Linked DNA regions of Homo sapiens: region 2 is linked to region 1. Evidence: promoter capture Hi-C in human tissues and cell types (Jung and others, 2019). All regions are on one chromosome and are shown on one strand. The core of a region is centred on a gene start or on the middle of the fragment in contact, and the rest is flanking DNA. Distances in the headings are between cores, read along the strand shown. Region 1 holds the start of OR13C8 (olfactory receptor family 13 subfamily C member 8). Region 2 has its middle 8.4 kb from the start of OR13F1.

What was found. The method cuts DNA at HindIII sites, captures the fragments that hold promoters and counts their contacts. A contact is called where the count stands out against the background at its distance.
Region 2: a contact is called between a fragment that was not itself captured here and the fragment with the promoter of OR13C8 in region 1, in 3 of the 25 tissues and cell types used here (H1 embryonic stem cells, bladder and hippocampus).

What each region holds. Positions count from the first base shown.
Region 1 is chr9:104,567,416-104,570,679 of GRCh38, forward strand. OR13C8 (olfactory receptor family 13 subfamily C member 8) reads left to right here and starts at 1,753. Exons shown (of 1, transcript NM_001004483.1): 1 at 1,753-2,715. The coding sequence starts at 1,753. The coding sequence ends at 2,715. The region is part of intron 3 of LOC107987105 (a long non-coding RNA gene); the gene reads right to left. The HindIII fragment of the contact is 8,099 bases long and covers 1-3,264 here.
Region 2 is chr9:104,494,149-104,497,508 of GRCh38, forward strand. No RefSeq gene overlaps it. Among named protein-coding and RNA genes, the nearest start is that of OR13F1, 8.4 kb to the right of the region's middle. The HindIII fragment of the contact is 3,801 bases long and covers 1-3,360 here.

The DNA.
Region 1 (3,264 bases), core at 503-3,002:
AGAGTGAATAAACAAGTAAAGAATGGTGTTTTATTCTCCCCTGTACACCAGTGTAACTTCAACTGGAGAAATTTTCCTTTTTATTTGTTTTATATATTACACTTCTGTATAAATTTTATTTTTCAATAATGAATGGTTAGACATCATTGGTTCAGTTCAATGTATATATTTTGAATAAAAGCACTATTATCACAATTGATTCTTTAGTTGTTGCATGCTTGAAAATAAATTAGGTAGAGGCTACAATAAACACCATTACATATTTTAATCAAAGCCAGTGATAAAATTGGCTTTGTAAATTTTAATTTATTCAATTTTTTAAAAATCATTTCTTTGAATGAATACTTCCTCATTGTACTGAAAAAACATACTGGAGGAGTATGAAGGTATGTTCCTTTTCTCAACGAGGTTACTCTCCTCAAAGAGGTCATATGCAGATACATAACCACTACTATACCCCAGTAGACCAGACTGAGTTTTCAAAAGATGCTCAACCACACAGGGCCACATTATGATTTTGATGGGCCCTAGGCACTTTTTTTTTTTTTTTTTTTTTGGCCTTTGTGGGGCCTTATTTCCATAAAGATTTAAAAGTCATATTTTACTTCTGCATTGTTACAAAAACAAATATAGTATATATTAAAACTTTAAAGTTAACGTTTTTCTTCATATTTTAAAAGAAATCAAAACATTTTCCTAGGTTTTTCACAATATGGTCGGAGTACTGTGCCTAATGGATAAGTTGGCCGTGCAGCCATAAGTCAAGATTCCAAATCCATATAAGATCCTGCCAGGTAATATAAACAATTGAGACCAACAATTGAGAATAACATGAGACTAACATGTTAATTGATAACTTATATTCACCTCCAGTGACAAGAGAGTGAGGATTGTAGTCTGGTAGAATGGAGGGACATGCGTTGGATCCAATGGGTCAGTTATTAATATAACTAAGCTCCATGACAGAAACAGGTCTAAAGTTTTCAAATATTCTAATTTATTCAAAGACAAGCTGAAGGCACAGATTTTTATACCATATCTGTTGATTAGAATGTTGATCTCTAGGCCGGGCACGGTGGCTCACGCCTGTAATCCCAGCACCTTGGGAGGCCGAGGAGGGCAAATCACGAGGTCAGGAGATCGAGACCATCCTGGCTAACACAGTGAAACCCCGTCTTTACTAAATATACAAAAACAAAATTAGCTGGGAGTGGTGGCGGGCGCCTGTAATCCCAGCTACTCGGGAGGCTGAGGCAGGAGAATGGCGTGAACCCGGGAGGCGGAGCCTGCAGTGAGCCGAGATGGCGCCACTGCACTCCAGACTGGGCGGCAGAGCGAGACTCCGTGTCGAAAAAAAAAAAAAAGAATGTTGATCTCTATTTCAAATTTAAACACAGTGCAGACAATCACTGCCAAACAAAGCACACCTGTCTGCTGAATCCAGGCTGTAGAACACTGATTTGCAGCCAATGGGTTAAGAGGCAGAACTTGTGGAAACAGCAATAAAGTGGATTGGGATCCAAAGGTCCTATAATCATGTGTTCTCTCTTAACTCTGAGACAGGTTAGGATTCCTACTCTAGTGGCCTGGGTTTTACAGGAAGAAATTGTCCCCAAACTTATATTGTTGCATCCAAAAACAGAACTGCAATAATACAGAATATGATTCTTAAAAGTAGCTCTCACAGACACTGTATTAACATATTCCTGTTCTATCATTCACAGAGTTCTGTTGGAGATCAGTATATGTAATATGGAAAGGACCAACGATTCCACGTCGACAGAATTTTTCCTGGTAGGGCTTTCTGCCCACCCAAAGCTCCAGACAGTTTTCTTCGTTCTAATTTTGTGGATGTACCTGATGATCCTGCTTGGAAATGGAGTCCTTATCTCAGTTATCATCTTTGATTCTCACCTGCACACCCCCATGTATTTCTTCCTCTGTAATCTTTCCTTCCTCGACGTTTGCTACACAAGTTCCTCTGTCCCACTAATTCTTGCCAGCTTTCTGGCAGTAAAGAAAAAGGTTTCCTTCTCTGGGTGTATGGTGCAAATGTTTATTTCTTTTGCCATGGGGGCCACGGAGTGCATGATCTTAGGCACGATGGCACTGGACCGCTATGTGGCCATCTGCTACCCACTGAGATACCCTGTCATCATGAGCAAGGGTGCCTATGTGGCCATGGCAGCTGGGTCCTGGGTCACTGGGCTTGTGGACTCAGTAGTGCAGACAGCTTTTGCAATGCAGTTACCATTCTGTGCTAATAATGTCATTAAACATTTTGTCTGTGAAATTCTGGCTATCTTGAAACTGGCCTGTGCTGATATTTCAATCAATGTGATTAGTATGACAGGGTCGAATCTGATTGTTCTGGTTATTCCATTGTTAGTAATTTCCATCTCTTACATATTTATTGTTGCCACTATTCTGAGGATTCCTTCCACTGAAGGAAAACATAAGGCCTTCTCCACCTGCTCAGCCCACCTGACAGTGGTGATTATATTCTATGGAACCATCTTCTTCATGTACGCAAAGCCTGAGTCTAAAGCCTCTGTTGATTCAGGTAATGAAGACATCATTGAGGCCCTCATCTCCCTTTTCTATGGAGTGATGACTCCCATGCTTAATCCTCTCATCTATAGTCTGCGAAACAAGGATGTAAAGGCTGCTGTCAAAAACATACTGTGTAGGAAAAACTTTTCTGATGGAAAATGAATACTGATTTATACTACATGACTTAATATTCAATGCTGCTGCAGACATAAAATTCAGAAAGATAAAATTACCATGTGAAAACAAATTTTGCCATGTGGCATTCAAAACCATATGGTAGAAATATTTTTGGGCCAGGCACAGTGGCTCATGCCTATAATCCCAGCACTTTGGGAGGCCAAGGAAGGTGGGTCACCTGAGGTCAGGAGTTCGAGACCAGCCTGGCCAATATGGCAAAACCCTGTCTCTACTAAAAATACAAAAATTAGACAGGCGTGGTGACGTGGGTATGTAGTCCCAGCTACTTGGGAGGCTGAGGCAGGAGAATTGCTTGAACGGGAAAGGAGGAGGTTGCAGCAAGCCGAGATCTCACCTCTGCACTCCAGCCTGGGCGACAGAGCGAGACTTCGTCTCAAAACAGAAATATTTTCTCTTTTACTGTTAGATTTTTGTTTAAAAATATATAACTATAGAAATAAAACATGCTCCTGGTGTTAAAACATACTATCATGGATAAATGTTGAAAATCTCTTTGGAAGCCTGAGCAGAAAA
Region 2 (3,360 bases), core at 349-2,848, 73 kb before region 1:
TATCCACGGAGCTATAGATCTATATGGATATAAATCTGTCCATGGAGCTATAGATCTATATAGATATGAATCTCTCTATATATAGATATATAGATATAAATCCAACTATATATAGATATATAGATAAAAATCCAACTATATATAGATATAGATATAAATCCATCTATATATAGATATATATGGATATAAATAAATCTCTATATTTTTTTGAGGCAGAGTTTTGCTCTTGTTGCCCAGGCTGCAGTGCAATGGCGCGATCTTGGCTCCCCGCAACCTCAGCCTCCTGGGTTCAAGCAATTCTCCAGCCTCAGCCTCCCGAGTAGCTGGGATTACAGGCATGTGCCACCACGCCCTGCTAATTTTGTATTTTTTAGTAGAGACGGGGGTTTCACCATGTTGGCCGGGCTGGTCTCGAACTCCTGACCTCGTGATCCACCTGCCTCAGCCTCCCAAAGTGCTGGGATTACAGGCGTGAGCCACCGGGCTCAGTCGCAGCTTATCTATATTTACCATAAACAATGGCCAGGCAAGGCAGCCATTGACTGACACATTAATGTAAGACATACATCAAGTGTCCTTCAGTTCAAGGACAGGGATGAAACCCCATACTTAGTCTATTCCCCACACAGCCTCCAGTTCAGTACTAAGCACAGAGCTTTGCCTTAGTATTTAATCTTCAATGTAAGACACTAGCAACTCTCTTCGACAGTTTATTATGTTTTAAAATAATTTGAATAAAAATATAAAGAAGCTTGTTTATATTTGTAAATATTAATAACAACAAAAAACAAAGCAGTGCATTTTTTTTCTCCACTGAGAAAGCTTTTCATAGGGGGAGGGTGGGCTCCATCAAAGACAAGCAAGTCTTTTTCACCATCTAGTGGCAATAGGGGATTATAACATCAGAGATCTTAAATTTAAACTTCCCTTCCCGCATCAAGCTTTATTGAAGTATACTTGACACATAAGAATTGTATCTTAATCCTTTCAAGGACAATTAAAACTATACTTAGAAAATTGTAGTCGTGTAGGGTTCACAAATAGAGCTGCATCCCTGTGTGTACACAGGGAAGGCCAGTGTAACCTTTCCTTGCCTGTTACCTTGGGCCTGTGTGCAGGAATGTTACCTATGTGATGAACTATTTATTCATCTAACAAATCTCCACTTAGTCGTTACTGTATTCCAGCCTCCATAATGGTAATAAAAAAGCTGACTATCAGGAGTTTGAGACCAGCCTGGCCAACATGGTGAAACCACATCTCTACTAAAAACACAAAAATTAGCCAGGTATGGTGGTGCATGCCTGTAATCCCAGCTACTTGGGAAGCTGAGGCAGGAGAATCGCTTAAATGAGAAAGGCAGAGGTTGCAGTGAGTTGAGATCGCACCACTATACTTTAGCCTGGGCAACAGAGTGAAACTCTGTCAAAAAAAAAAAAAAAAAAAGAAAGCTAAGAAACCTAATTCACAAAATAGGCAATCATACAATATAAGGGAGTCAGACCTAAAGTGTCTGTCAGACCTAAAGTGACAGCTCACAAATGTCAAATTTAAATACATTTATTCCACGCTTGCTATGCTTCCAAAAATATGCAAAATATCACCCACCAATGGTTACTTTTTTCACCAATATAGGCCTTCGTCTGACGATTTGAATCTTTTGTTGGTTGGATCTTGTGTCCCATGACTTCCAGACGCCTTGGCTTTGCTCCGTGTTCCTGCTTCACACTGCAAACCGCCTTTTGATGAAGTTTGTGGCCCCACCTCTTTGACTTTGTTCCTTGAACATTTTTCTTAGACATGATTGTATTTGCTCTAGTTTCTGTGATAACCTTAGAGAACCCTTACTAACCAAAAATTATACTGGAAAGCCAAAAGGGGATGACATCAAAAGCCCGAGGCCTTGAGGTCCTTGTTCCCTGGAGATGAGACAATGCCTTCTTTGCTGTCTGTGCAGAAAAGGCTGTGCAAACCACAATTTTGTACATTCAGATTTCAACAATGACCACTACACTTGCCTAAAGTATCTGCTTTGCTGGTGTCCTGATTTTAGAAAGGTACCATAAAGCTTACCAAGGGACCATGCTCTCTGGCACCAAGGAAGCAAACTCATTACCAAGAGAAAAGATCAGTATAGATTTTGGTGGTCGGATTACTTCACAGAACCTCAAACCTTTCCCCCCATCCAAGGTACTAGCCTTAATAATAGGCCCTGAGTATGTTCCTGAAGAACTGTAAGCTACCCAGGTGCCGACCAATGCCTCTGTTGTAGACTGAATAGTGTCCCCCAAATTTCATTTGTTGCAGTCCTAACCTCCTGCCCCTCAGAATAAAACCGTATTTAGAGATAAGGCCTTTAAAGAGGCAATTAAGGCCAGACATGGTAGCTCACACTTTGAATCTCAACATTTTGGAAGGCTAAGGCAGGAGGACCACTTGAAGCCGGGAGTTCAAGACCAGCCTGGGCAACAAAGCAAGACACCATCTCTACAAATTTTTTTTTTTTTTTTGACGGAGTCTCGCTCTGTCGCCCAGGCTGGAGTGCAGTGACGCGATCTCAGCTCACTGCAAGCTCCGCCTCCCGGGTTCATGCCATTGCCATTCTCCTGCCTCAGCCTCCCGAGTAGCTGGGACTACAGGCGCCCGCCACCATGCCCGGCTAATTTTTTGTATTTTGTTTAGTAGAGACGGGGTTTCACCGTGTTAGCCAGGATTTTCTCGATCTCCTGACCTCGTGATCCGCCCACCTCGGCCTCCCAAAGTGCTCGGATTACAGGCGTGAGCCACCGCGCCCAGCCCAAAAAATTTTTTAAAGTGATTGAGTTAAAATAAAATCTTCAGAGTGGGACCTAATTCAATATGAGTGGTATTCCCATAAAAAGAAACGTGGACACAGAGAAAAATCAAATGCATGCACACGCAGAGATGACCCTGTGAACACGCCAAGAGGAGGCAGTTGACTCCAGTGATGAACAAGGAGAGAGGCCTCAGAAGAAACTAAACATGCTAACACCTCAATCTTGAACTTCTAGTCTCCAGAAGTGTGAGAAAACAAATTTGTGTTGTTGAACTCACTCTGGTTGTGGTATGTTGTTATGGCAGCCTTAGCAAACTAATATACCCTCCTATGCAATAACCTAATCTTGGTTCAACACTCTTTCCCCTCTAGAAAATTTGCAGCTCTCCATGCAGTCTTCAACTTGAGTAACAGCCCTTCTTCTTGGAAGATGAAGTTGTCTTTTTATTGATCCTGACTCATCTTTGGAAAGGTAAAATGACTTTTCAGCCAGATTTATATTCATTCGGGGATGAACAATTATCTTCTTTGGGGGAGATCAGTAAAATAGCAAAGAAACTCCC